Regions from separate parts of the Homo sapiens genome. Here all the other regions are linked to region 3. The links are contacts of gene promoters, found by promoter capture Hi-C in blood cells and fetal thymus (Javierre and others, 2016). All regions are on one chromosome and are shown on one strand. The core of a region is centred on a gene start or on the middle of the fragment in contact, and the rest is flanking DNA. Distances in the headings are between cores, read along the strand shown. Region 1 overlaps FNDC3B (fibronectin type III domain containing 3B). Region 2 overlaps FNDC3B (fibronectin type III domain containing 3B). Region 3 holds the start of NCEH1 (neutral cholesterol ester hydrolase 1).

Region 1 (4,124 bases), core at 669-3,168, 370 kb after region 3:
GACTACAGTAAAACTTCCACAACCCTAAATAATATAAGCAAGTGGCAAGTGCCAAGGGTGATTACTATAGTACACAGAGCAAAAAAAAAAAAAAAATCATCTATATGTGCATTTTGGATTTGCAGCTTCCTTATAATTGGTATTTGTATTTGGGAGTAAAGTAGAAGAAACAGAAGTTGATGCAGAATATGCCTGACTTACCTCCCAACCCACTAAGACACATCCATCAGGTGTACAAGAAATACAAGGTGCTTTGCATTGTCCAGGAGGCCCTGCAGCAGTGGTAATTTCTGAGACATCAGAATAGGGACCATACTGAAAGAAAACACACGCACACACACGTATGTATATATGCGTGTATGTGTTTGTGAATGTGTGTGCATACAAAAGCTTATAACCAAATAAAAGCTAGGCTAACATCATCATCAACACAACTAATTAACAAATATTACCCAATGATTTTCACTTTCAATTCAATGTGTGTAAGTTTTTCTCCTATATACAGTCCCTGAGTAGTAGATGTCTGTCATTTTTTTAATTGTAAAATAATTAGTTGGTTGACAAAATATTTTCCCTTTCTTGGGACATGAAATAAAAATATGCTGATTTTTGACAAAACAGGGCAATCTGCTTTCATATTTCTCAGAGGACATCCAAGAAAACTAAGTCAGATGCCCACTGCAGTTTAATTTTTAATGAATAAAAATATACTTGGAATTGTTGGTGATCAAATTCTAGGTATTTCTTCTAGTTACCGGTATTTTCCATTTTGAAAATAAATGCTTCTGTAATGTTTTCTCAGTGTGTTCCCATCACCTCACCTATTCAAGGGTATCCACGGCAATCCTGATGTTACCATCAGTGACCACACTGCTCAGAGCCAGGAATTGCTAGAGACTTACCACACTTTGAGAGAGTCACAGCCACCTGAACCACCCATTTTAATGGTGGCATATTTGATACTTCAAAGGTTTGGAGCAGAGTAAAAACTTGCCAGGCTAACAAAATATATGACTGTCCTTGTCAAAATGAGAGAAAAAAGACGGCGGGGAGGGGGGAAACAAAAAACCACCTCTCAACATAACATGCAAAGATGCTGGGGAGTTGGGGAAGCTCTCTGAAATGGACCTCAGAAGGTGACTACAGCGATATATATGGTTAATTTCTAATACAACAGGAATAAACCCAAGCTGAAGATAGTTTCTTTATAGGATAAATCAGTGAAAGGGCTGAGAAAAGTACAGCTCACACCAGCCCAGTTGCACATTTATCTTTGTTGTGGCAGATAGTAACTGAAAAGTTGATGAGAGAATGGGGTAGACACAACAGTGTGCTCATCACTATCCATCTTCTTTTCGCTTACATGATTATAAGTTCAGGTACATAGGCGTTAATGTTCAGACTTTTTTGTTTTCACTTAAGTATCATTGTTGTGTCTGAAATTCTTTTCTATTGGAGAATTAGGAGAAATCCAGTTTTGGGCACTCTGCCTAAGGAATAGCCCTTCTTTTATTCCTTTACTTTCTTAATAAACTTGCTTTCACTTAAAACAAAAAGTCACTGCAAGTTGGGCTGTCTTATTTTTTTAAAAAATCATCAATTAATTAATTCTATTTATTTGCATGGAGCCCATCTACACAAACCACTGGCACTTTGGACGGGGCATTTAGCTGGCTTTACCCACACGCTTCTGCCCTTTTATGCTTCATCAATCTCTGAGCCCACCCAAAAGCCTCACAGTTACTGGGACTCCCACTGCTCATTATTCATCTCCCCCTAAATCCACATCATTTGGCAATTTCAAAGAAAAAAAGGACAACAACCTTTATGGATATAACATAGACATATATATTCTCAATTTTTGATAGCTCAACTTGACAACTCCAAATGGAGCAATAGAAGGAGAGAGTCCTGTAGTTTTCACGTGAAACAAAACAAAAACAAGCTGGTGTCCCTGGCCACTACCCTTCTCTAGTTGTAAAAACTGACCTAAGATGTTGCTGGTTCATTTAGACAAGACAGTATAAAACTTTTATTAGAACTATTATCTAATCCTAATTTCCCTGAACTGATAAAGTCAATAGAATAGGAAATTTTCCAAAAACTGTCGAAAATATCTACAGGGTGATATCCTTATTAACCTTGAGTGCTGTCTTCATAGAATGATATGAGGACAAAAGAAACAGAAAACTTCTAATGCTGGGTCTATATGAAATCACAACAATATCAACTCAGAATTAAGATTTACAGACACTGCATTAATGGTTGTCAAGGTTGCATCAAGACTGTCAAAAATTTCAGGAGGCTAGAGACAGAAGTGCTAGCACTTTGGGTTCTGATTATGCATTCTGATTCTGGTTATGGTGTATGGGCTTATACTCACCCCTCCATCATTCAGAGCCCTCACCCGGAAGCGATACACGGTTCCAGGAAGCAGGTTGCCGACGGTGCACTCCAGCTCTGGGCCATGGTACACTTCCGAGGCTACGTCTTCGGGCTCCGTCATCTCCACGCTGTACTCTGAGACCTCACAGCCACTTTCCGATGCAGGAACATCTGGGAATGAAGAATTTTTTTCATCTTAGAACACTTTGTGCTTCCAGTTGACCAAAGTGCACCAGATTTCACACAAGTTGAGCAAAATATCACATAGGTGGCCGGCCTCAGTATCTCCCTTACAAAAGAATCCATGCCCACCAAAAAAGAGATATAAAAATAAAAGTTTCTGAATGATGTTATCCATACTCTCCAAAGCGGGTCCACTGAAGTTTATTTAATTACATTGATAAAATAATCCCAAAATTATAGGAACATTAGATATATTTCTTCATATTCTAATGCTAGGTAAATGGAAGAAAAAGAGGGAAGAAAAATCTCTTTAATTGGAAACCAAAGGTCATGCTAAATCAAAATACAGGACCCCAAATTGGCACAATTTATTATACTTTAGACATAAGTGGTAGGAAAAAATAGTCTGCTAGAGAGTTCTGTACATTTGTACTTGTAATTATACATGTTGTAAACTGCTGGACACAACAGGAAACGCTAATACAGCTTAAATCAATGCTGTAAAAACATCAGGACCCACACAGGACAATGCAGCAGAGGTGGTTGCAAACAAAGACGAGAAAGAATTCCATGTGATCTTATAAACCATTCTTTGGTTTAAATTCTAAATGGAGCACAAAATTTTTTTCCCATGAATAAAGTTGAAAACTTTCTGAAAAAGACTGGCTGTTCTTGAAATACTCCCTAGAAATGTGTCCCCTGAAGTGCGGGGGATAAACCATGTGTGTGGCACCATCAGGAAGAGGAAGGTGAGGGACAGTGTTGCGGGTGTGGATGGGGGGAATGACACACATAAAAAACCTGGGTCAACATACTTCAAGAAGAATATGGACATCCTCAACAGACAAAAACGTATATGGTCTTTAGAAGAAAGCTTTGAAACTTAACTACAAAGCATAAGTCTTCATCTCCAATTGTCCAAATTGTCAATGTCAATGTGAAGGTTAGTTCACTCACCCCACTCTAAGTGGACTTCTTTGTGCTTTGGTCTACCCAAAACCCTCGGTGGTCGACATTGACCTGGTGCAATGCTTAGTGTGCGAACAGGGAGACTTTCAGAACACTGCAGGAGAAACACCAGAGAGAACCATCTCTTAGTTACTGTGAATTTATCAGACCTCTACATATCAGGCAAATTCCACCCCATAACTGCAAATGTTACCGAAAAGGGGTTACACACTAAATGTGTGCACATTATGGTATGCTTTTAATGTAATTAAGATCTTCATATAAATTTATGTGTGTGTGTTTTAAGGGTGGCTATAGACTTCATATGGCACTGGGAAAAACAAGAATGATTATTTTTGAAGTTAGATTAGCAGACATGAGTACTGTATATCCTAAGCACACAATTCTTTTCCTTCAAATCAAAATTAGAAAGACCCTTCATGAGGACAGAAGAGAACACAAAACGACAGCTGGATGAAATTTTAAAATGGTACCATAAATGGCCAACCACTCACATACAGAGCAGAAAAGCAAATAAACTCAATATTAATCAATTGATTCTGACATCAACCAGCAGGTACTGTTAATGCTAAAATAAGCAGTCCTTT
Region 2 (3,776 bases), core at 351-2,850, 330 kb after region 3:
TATATTCCAAATGCATTCTCTCTTATGTGGGTTTATTATGTGATTTACAGAGCCTTGCTACTCAAATTATGGTCCATGGACCAGCAATGTCAGTGTCACCTGGGAGGGTGAATCTCCACCCAAGACCTACCAGGTCAGAATCTGCATTTTAACAGATTCCCGGGTGATTCCTTTGACATTAAAAGGTGACATGCATGACTTAGAGCTTCTGAATCACAGGCCTCCAGGGCCTATGCATCATCTCCCTTAACCTTCCATTAGTTCTACAAAAAAGGTAGACAGAATGTAGGCTTCAGTAGTTAGGTTAAGACTACTTCTCCTCGATGACATGATTGTACGTTTAGAAAACCCCATCATCTCAGTCCAAAAACTCCTTAAGTTGATAAGCAACTTCAGCAAAATCTCAGGATACCAAATCAATGTGCAAAAATCACAAGCATTCCTATACACCAATAATAGACAAACAGCCAAATCATGAGCAAACTCCCATTCACAATTGCTACAAAGAGAATAAAATACCTAGGAATACAACTTACAAGGGATGTGAAGGACCTCTTCAGGGAGAACTACAAACCACTGCTCAAGAAAATAAGAGAGGACACAAACAAATGGAAAAACATTCCATGCTCGTGGATAGGAAGAATCAATATCGTGAAAATGGCCATACTGCCCAAAGTAATTTATAGATTCAATGCTATTCCCATCAAGTTACCACTGACTTTCTTCACAGAATCAGAAAAAACCTACTTTAAGTTTCATATGGAACCAAAAAAGAGTGTGTATAGCCAAGACAATCCTAAGCAAAAAGAACAAAGCTGGAGGCATCATGCTACCTGACTTCAAACTATATTACAAGGCTACAGTAACCAAAACAGCATAGTACTGGTACCAAAACAGATATATAGACCAATGGAACATAACAGAGGGCTCAGAAATACCACCACACATCTACAACCATCTGATCTTTGACAAACCTGACAAAAACAAGAAATGGGGAAAGGATTCCCTATTTAACAAATGGTGTTGGAAAAACTGGCTAGCTATATACAGAAAACTGAAAGTGGACCCCTTCCTTACCCCTTATACAAAAATTAACTCAAGATGGATTAAAGATTTAAATGTAAGACCTAAAATCATAAAAACCGTAGAAGAAAACCTAGGCAATACCATTCGGAACATAGGCATGGGTAAAGACTTCATGACTAAAACACCAAAAGCAATGGCAACAAAAGCCAAAATTGACAAATGGGATCTAATTAAACTAAAGAGCTTCTGCACAGCAAAGAAACTATCATCAGAGTGAACAGGCAACCTTCAGAATGGGAGAAAAATTTTGCAATCTATCCATCTGACAAAGGCCTAATATCTAGCACCTACAAGGACCTTACACAAATTTACAAGAAAAAAACCACCCCATCAAAAAGTGGGTGAAGGATATGAACAGACACTTCTCAAAAGAAGATATTTATGTGGCCAACAAACATATGAAAAAAAGCTCGTCATCACTTGTCATTAGAGAAATGCAAATCAAAACTACTATGAGATACCATTTCACGCCAGTTAGAATGGCAATCATTTAAAAAGTCAGGAAACAACAGATGCTGGAGAGGATGTGGGGAAATAGGAACACTTTTACACCGTTGGTGGGAGTGTAAATTAGTTCAACCATTGTGGAAGACAGTGTGGCAATTCCTCAAGGATCTAGAACCAGAAATACCATTTGACCCAGCAATCCCATTACTGGGTATATACCCAAAGGATTATAAATCCTTCTACTATAAAGACACATGCACATGTATGTTTATTGCAGCACTATTCACAATAGCAAAGACTTGGAACCAACCCAAATGCCCATCAATGTTAGACTGGATAAAGAAAATGTGGCACATATACACCATGGAATACTGTGCAGCCATAAAAAAAGAACGAGTTCATGTCCTTTGTAGGGACATGGATGAAGTGGAAACCATCATTCTTGGCAAACTGACACAGGAACAGAAAACCAAACACCGCAGGTTCTCACTCATAAGTGGGAGTTGAACAATGAGAACATATGGGCACAGGGAGGGGAACATCACACACTGGGGCCTGTCAGGGGGTGGGGGGCAAGGGGAGGGATAGCATTAGGAGAAATACCTAATGTAGATGACAGGTTGATGGGCGCAGCAAACTACCATGGCACATGTATACCTATGTAACAAACCTGCATATTCTACACATGTATCCCAGAACTTAAAGTATAATGAAAAAAAAAAAAGATCAATACTAACAACAACAAAAAAAGAGACTACTTCCCTCTATAGTAAAATCACAGGCACTTTAGTTTTCAATTACATACTGACTTTGATGCTTGCAAACCTCACCATCAATGTCAAATACAAATAAACGATTTACAACTCTTTAAGACAAACATATGCTTGAGAACTGAAAATTGAAGATGAATACCACCATATATAAAATGAAATGTAAACTAGGTTTCACCCACTCTGAAGAATTATACAATAAGTACAAGTTAGGCAGTTTCTATCACTGATTTTAAGAAAAACATAGTTCACTGAGTCATTCATAGCAATAAGCAGAGGCATGGAGCCAGCCATACTCAGTTGCACATGTGCCATGCACACTGGTTCTTACCTGTTTGTACTCAGATTCTCTTCCAACCAATACCTGCAGAATGTAGTTAACAGGGTCACCTTTCATTGATGGTACCGTCTCCCATAAAATTTCACATGAATTTCCTTCTAACTGTGTTACTCGAGGTGCTGAAATACAAATCCACACATCCAAGCTCAAAATTCAAAGTATCATGTTAATAGTCAACACTTTAGCACTATTAGTGAGAACCCAGAGAGAGCAAGATTGTGCCTGTGTTTGCCCTGAGAGAGGAGCTGATTTGCCCAGCCTCTCATAAAACCAGCAGGGTGCCCTTTAGGCACAGAGAAGTTACTCCATGACTAAAAAGCCATTGATGAAAAATCCTTTGCCCATTATCCCATTAATAACAGCTTGATGTGGATCACATCTTTTTTTCTCCTATGGCAATTGAGTATCCTCTATGGCTTAGGCCCTGTCCTAGGTATTCTGGAAGATGCAAAAACAGGCAAGGTAAACCCTGTTTTCAAGAAACTTAAGAGTTAGTTGAAGGAAGGGGAGAGCAAGGTATGAGACGCATACAAAAAGAAACATCAGGGAATAAAAATGAGAGGTACAAACAAAACGTTGGGAATTTCCAGAGGAGGAAAAGAGCATACCTGGGTGAGGGTCTAAGGAAAGTTTGAGGAGCAGGTGACATGTGAGAACAGTCCTGGGGAATGGGCAGCATTGAAAGCCTTTAAAAATTAAATTATATTTATATATATTTTATTTTTCACCTCCTGAACTCCTCATTCTCATTTAAAGCTAAATTATATTAGTCTGCAGTAAGGCACTTAAAATATTCTAGATTTAAAAAATATTTTCATAACTTCTATCTCTACAGCTTGATTCAATAGGACATTTTCCTATTTTGTAACTAGAATGTATATCTCCTGTCTGAACCCCCTTATACTTTAATCCCTAATTACATGCAACTAATTCTTTAGAGACAGTTGTTTCTGCTTGCAATTCTGTGTGTTATTGTTTCAGAAAAATAATGCTTTCCTTAAAAAAAAAGAAGAAGAAGAAAAGGAGCCTACGCTGGAAATACTAGGCCAAAATTCCAAGCATTTTATGAAAAAACTAAATAAGGAAGCCTATCAGATTAAACTGTCCTCCAGCTATGACAATAATTTCCTGAG
Region 3 (3,741 bases), core at 628-3,127:
GCCAAGATTGCACCATTGCACTCCAGCCTGGGTGACAAGAGCGATGCTCTATCTCAAAAAAAAAAAGAATAGCTTCTAATTTTCTACACATATACTCACACACAAACATAAACATAAACATTCCTATCTGTTTAGAGTTATGAGTTTAACCAGTAACTTAAAAGACAGAGAGAGAGAGAGAGAGAGAGAGAGAGAGAGAGAGAGAGAGAGAGAGAGGCCAGGTGCCGTGGATCATGCCTGTAATCCCAGCACTTTGGGAGACTGAGGTGGGCAGATCACAAGGTCAGGAGTTTGAGACCAGCCTGGCCAGCATGGTGAAACCCCATCTCTACTAAAAATACAAAAATCAGCCAGGTGTGGTGGTGGGCACCTGTAATCCCACCTACTGAGGAGGCTGAGGCAAGAGAATTGCTTGAACCCAGGAGGTGGAGGTTGCAGTGAGCTGAGATCGTGCCATTGCACTCTAGCCTGGGCGAAAAGAGCAAGACTCCGTCTCAAAAAAAACAAAAAACAAACACCAAAAACAAACAAAACAAAAAAAAAAGAGAGAGAGAACTTGCTTGAAATACCATGAAAGTGTGCCCTTCTTATCAGTTTTCCTTCAATGTTGAAGAAGAAGCCAACTGTTTCCTAAAAATCTCATTATCAGAACCAAATTTATGGTTATTTCACTTCTATTAATTTGATTAAATTAAAATTACCATCTTAAGATGCATAATTATATATACTAGGTGTTTTAAGACCTTCATCAATAAGTTTGGAGTTGTCATCCTACCACTTTCTTGAAACAGGTCTTCTAACTGTTTTCCTTCTGGATTTCTGGTTGAAATTTTGCTAGTGAAGTTTTCTCTCTCCCATTCAGTACTCACCCACCCCTCCTCACCCCCAATCATTAACAAGAAATCTGGGTTTAAGTGTATTTCTGCTACCATTGACTCACTGAAAGAATTTTTCAGGTGATATCCACACGTTTCTCCAATAAAAAGTTATTATTTTTTCCCTTTGTAGTAATTTGTGGAGAGATCTTCTGATGAAGGACCAAAATTCTGTGTCAAATTTTTACCCTCTAGTTTTAGCATTCATTTATGATTTTCTATGGATACTAGCTGGCATTCTATTTTAAGAAAAGCCTTTCTTCTTTCCTCATTTATTTATATTAATATAGATTGTTGAGTTTTATTTTAATCAATGGGTTATCCATTATGATGATTTATATTGATGGTAAAATTATCCCAGCTTCAGCCACTGGGAGACCCTTCAAGCTGGCAGCTGTGGACCTTTGACCAGTTCCTATCATTTTTTGAGCACTTCCGCATCTCTGGCACAACAGGTTCATCTTGTACTTTACAGCCCCAGCCCTGGTATCAGCCTTTTCTCCAGAGGTTGTGTCAAAAAGCCGTGGTTCCTCTTATTGGAGCATAGGATTTAGAAACCAAGACTTGGGTGCTAGATGTACTACTGGCCTTTCATTGCTTGAGCCAGAAGAATTTAATATCTTCTTTTGCCATATATCAGCTAGAACTTACAAACCACTCCAAGTCTGGCTCCAGAAAACAGAATTTTTATATCCTTTCTCAGTACTCTGAGTCAGAATGACCCACTTGCTTTGTCCAGAGACTCGTCACACTGAAACTATTTTCCGTTTGAGACCTTCCAGGAGGAAAGCCATCCTCACACGCATGCAGTACAAACCAGTGTCCTCCAGAGTCCGCTGTGCCTACGGCCAGAGCAGCGACAGAGCCTTCCTCAAACCTGTAGTGACTGCCACACTTTGCAAGGACACCGTAGAGGGGGCATGTCCGCGCTCCAACTTCCTCCCGACGCAGCCTCTGATTGGCTCCTGGGCTTATAAGAAACGCGTGAATGAGCAGCTGCCGCGGGCAGAAAGTTGCCGGAGGTCTCCGGGTGGTATCGCCCTTTCCTCTTTGCCAGCCCGCTGGCGAGCCGAGCCAGGGCAAGATGAGGTCGTCCTGTGTCCTGCTCACCGCCCTGGTGGCGCTGGCCGCCTATTACGTCTACATCCCGCTGCCTGGCTCCGTGTCCGACCCCTGGAAGCTGATGCTGCTGGACGCCACTTTCCGGGGTGCACAGCAAGTGGTGAGGTGCAGCCCAGCGCTGCTTCTCTCTTCCTCCTCTTACGCAATATTTGAAGGGGATACAAAATTCCTCCGCCGGGTTCCACGAAAACGCAGGTTTTTCCTAATGCATTGAGGCTGTCGCTTTTTGAGGTGGTCCAGTCGGGAATTTTCAGGGTATCGCATTCGCCTCCTTGCTAGCAGCGGGCTAGATCTGCATTTCCCCGTCTGCGTTTGTGACGGGGAAGAAGTGCTTGAATAGAATTTGACAACTGTTTAAACCTTCGTCTGTCCTAAATATCTTCCTCTTCCTTGGTTTGCAACGTCAAAAGGCAAATCCTTAAGCAGTTTATAAACCACCCTTCTTCACACTGTCGTTCTCCCATAGGGACCGGCAGAGGATAAATATTTTTAGGAGAGCTCGGGAAAAGCAGGCTCTGGTTCCTGGGAATGCAGCCACCTTAGAAGCAGAAGCAGGCAAGGGCAGTCTCGCAATGTCCCCAGGCTGTGGAGCGCTCCGTTCCCGGAGACAGCAGGCAGGGCTCTCCATCCAAGCACTTGAGGAACCATAGGGATCTCTCGTTTCACCCGAGGCAGATCTCAGCTCAGCCCAAGAAAGAGGACTGGGAGGCTGGGCTGGCTGAAAGGAGGTGAGGAGGCGGCAGCCCTGGTTTGCATGATGCATGTTTTCTGCTTGCCCTGCAGCATTTATTTTATGTCCTTGGCTGTCAGATAACCTTTTCCTGAGCGAGGTTACCTGCCTTAACCTGGGAGGGTAACATTTCTCTCCACTGTATCATGGGCGTGTGTTCATTCCTTCCATACACAGGAAAATATAACTGTCTCTGGTTTATTCCATGGTAAGAGGCATTATTTTTAGTGTCAGAGAATCTAAAATCTAAACTACAGTCTGCAGCCAAGGCTGAGCCCTCTGATTGGACAGTATTTCTGAGCAGCCTGCTCTATCTAAACTCTAACCTTCTCCAAAACCAAGCCTCCTCCCTCCCCACAACCTTGGGCTTTAATCTCAGAATATTTTTATAAACTCTTTCTTTCAGAAATGACAACTAGAGAAAGAGAAAAAAAATCATTTCAACCTGAGAAAGCTGATTTTAAAAAAGTCATGATTTTCCCAGAGGGTTTATGTTCCTGTTCCCTGTCCACTCATTATGTGTAGGATTACATAATCTGTGGGGCTTTATCCTATGAAAAGTCCCCTTACTAGGATATTGCAGCACATTCCTAGCGTGGATTTGCTTTTCCTGAATTCAGCCACATTCTCACCTCCAAAGCCCCTTTTGTCTCTTAGGAAAGGTCTATGAAGCTATAGACCCCTGCCCCCCTTCTTTTCCTCTTGCTTCCTATAATGTTGACATGGTGAAAATGATCATCCCCTTCTTTAGCACTGGTGTCAAGAAAGTCAGTCTTGTTGTAGGAAGCCTTGCATTCCCTCTCCTCCCCCATGAAATTATGTAATTTGAAAGTAATACCCTTCAAAGATTGAGGAACAGTGATGTTTACCTGGGTGGGTTAATGGTCTACTACAATAACTTAAACAGAGGAAAACAGGAAAAAGATCAAACTGCTGTGTTGGCTGCAGAGATTATTCTTAGTTTTCAGGTCACCAAAGAAGTCTTCTCCATCATAAGTTAATCTCGGACAAGCT

The links. Contacts are between HindIII fragments. The CHiCAGO score rates a contact against its expected background, and 5 or more counts as called.
Region 1: a contact is called between a fragment that was not itself captured here and the fragment with the promoter of NCEH1 in region 3, in 1 of 17 cell types (monocytes). The highest score is 5.7, in monocytes.
Region 2: a contact is called between a fragment that was not itself captured here and the fragment with the promoter of NCEH1 in region 3, in 1 of 17 cell types (monocytes). The highest score is 5.1, in monocytes.

The regions. Positions count from the first base shown.
Region 1 is chr3:172,342,518-172,346,641 of GRCh38, reverse strand. FNDC3B (fibronectin type III domain containing 3B) reads right to left here. Exons shown (of 26, transcript NM_022763.4): 18 at 3,526-3,631; 19 at 2,384-2,556; 20 at 202-315. Among named protein-coding and RNA genes, the nearest start is that of GHSR, 100 kb to the left of the region's middle. The HindIII fragment of the contact is 3,052 bases long and covers 393-3,444 here.
Region 2 is chr3:172,379,952-172,383,727 of GRCh38, reverse strand. FNDC3B (fibronectin type III domain containing 3B) reads right to left here. Exons shown (of 26, transcript NM_022763.4): 25 at 2,635-2,762. Among named protein-coding and RNA genes, the nearest start is that of GHSR, 67 kb to the left of the region's middle. The HindIII fragment of the contact is 8,032 bases long and covers 1-3,776 here.
Region 3 is chr3:172,709,203-172,712,943 of GRCh38, reverse strand. NCEH1 (neutral cholesterol ester hydrolase 1) reads left to right here and starts at 1,877. Exons shown (of 5, transcript NM_020792.6): 1 at 1,877-2,097. The coding sequence starts at 1,960. RefSeq lists enhancers at 1,427-1,566, 1,611-1,905, 1,827-2,096, 1,226-2,425. The HindIII fragment of the contact is 17,687 bases long and covers 1-3,741 here.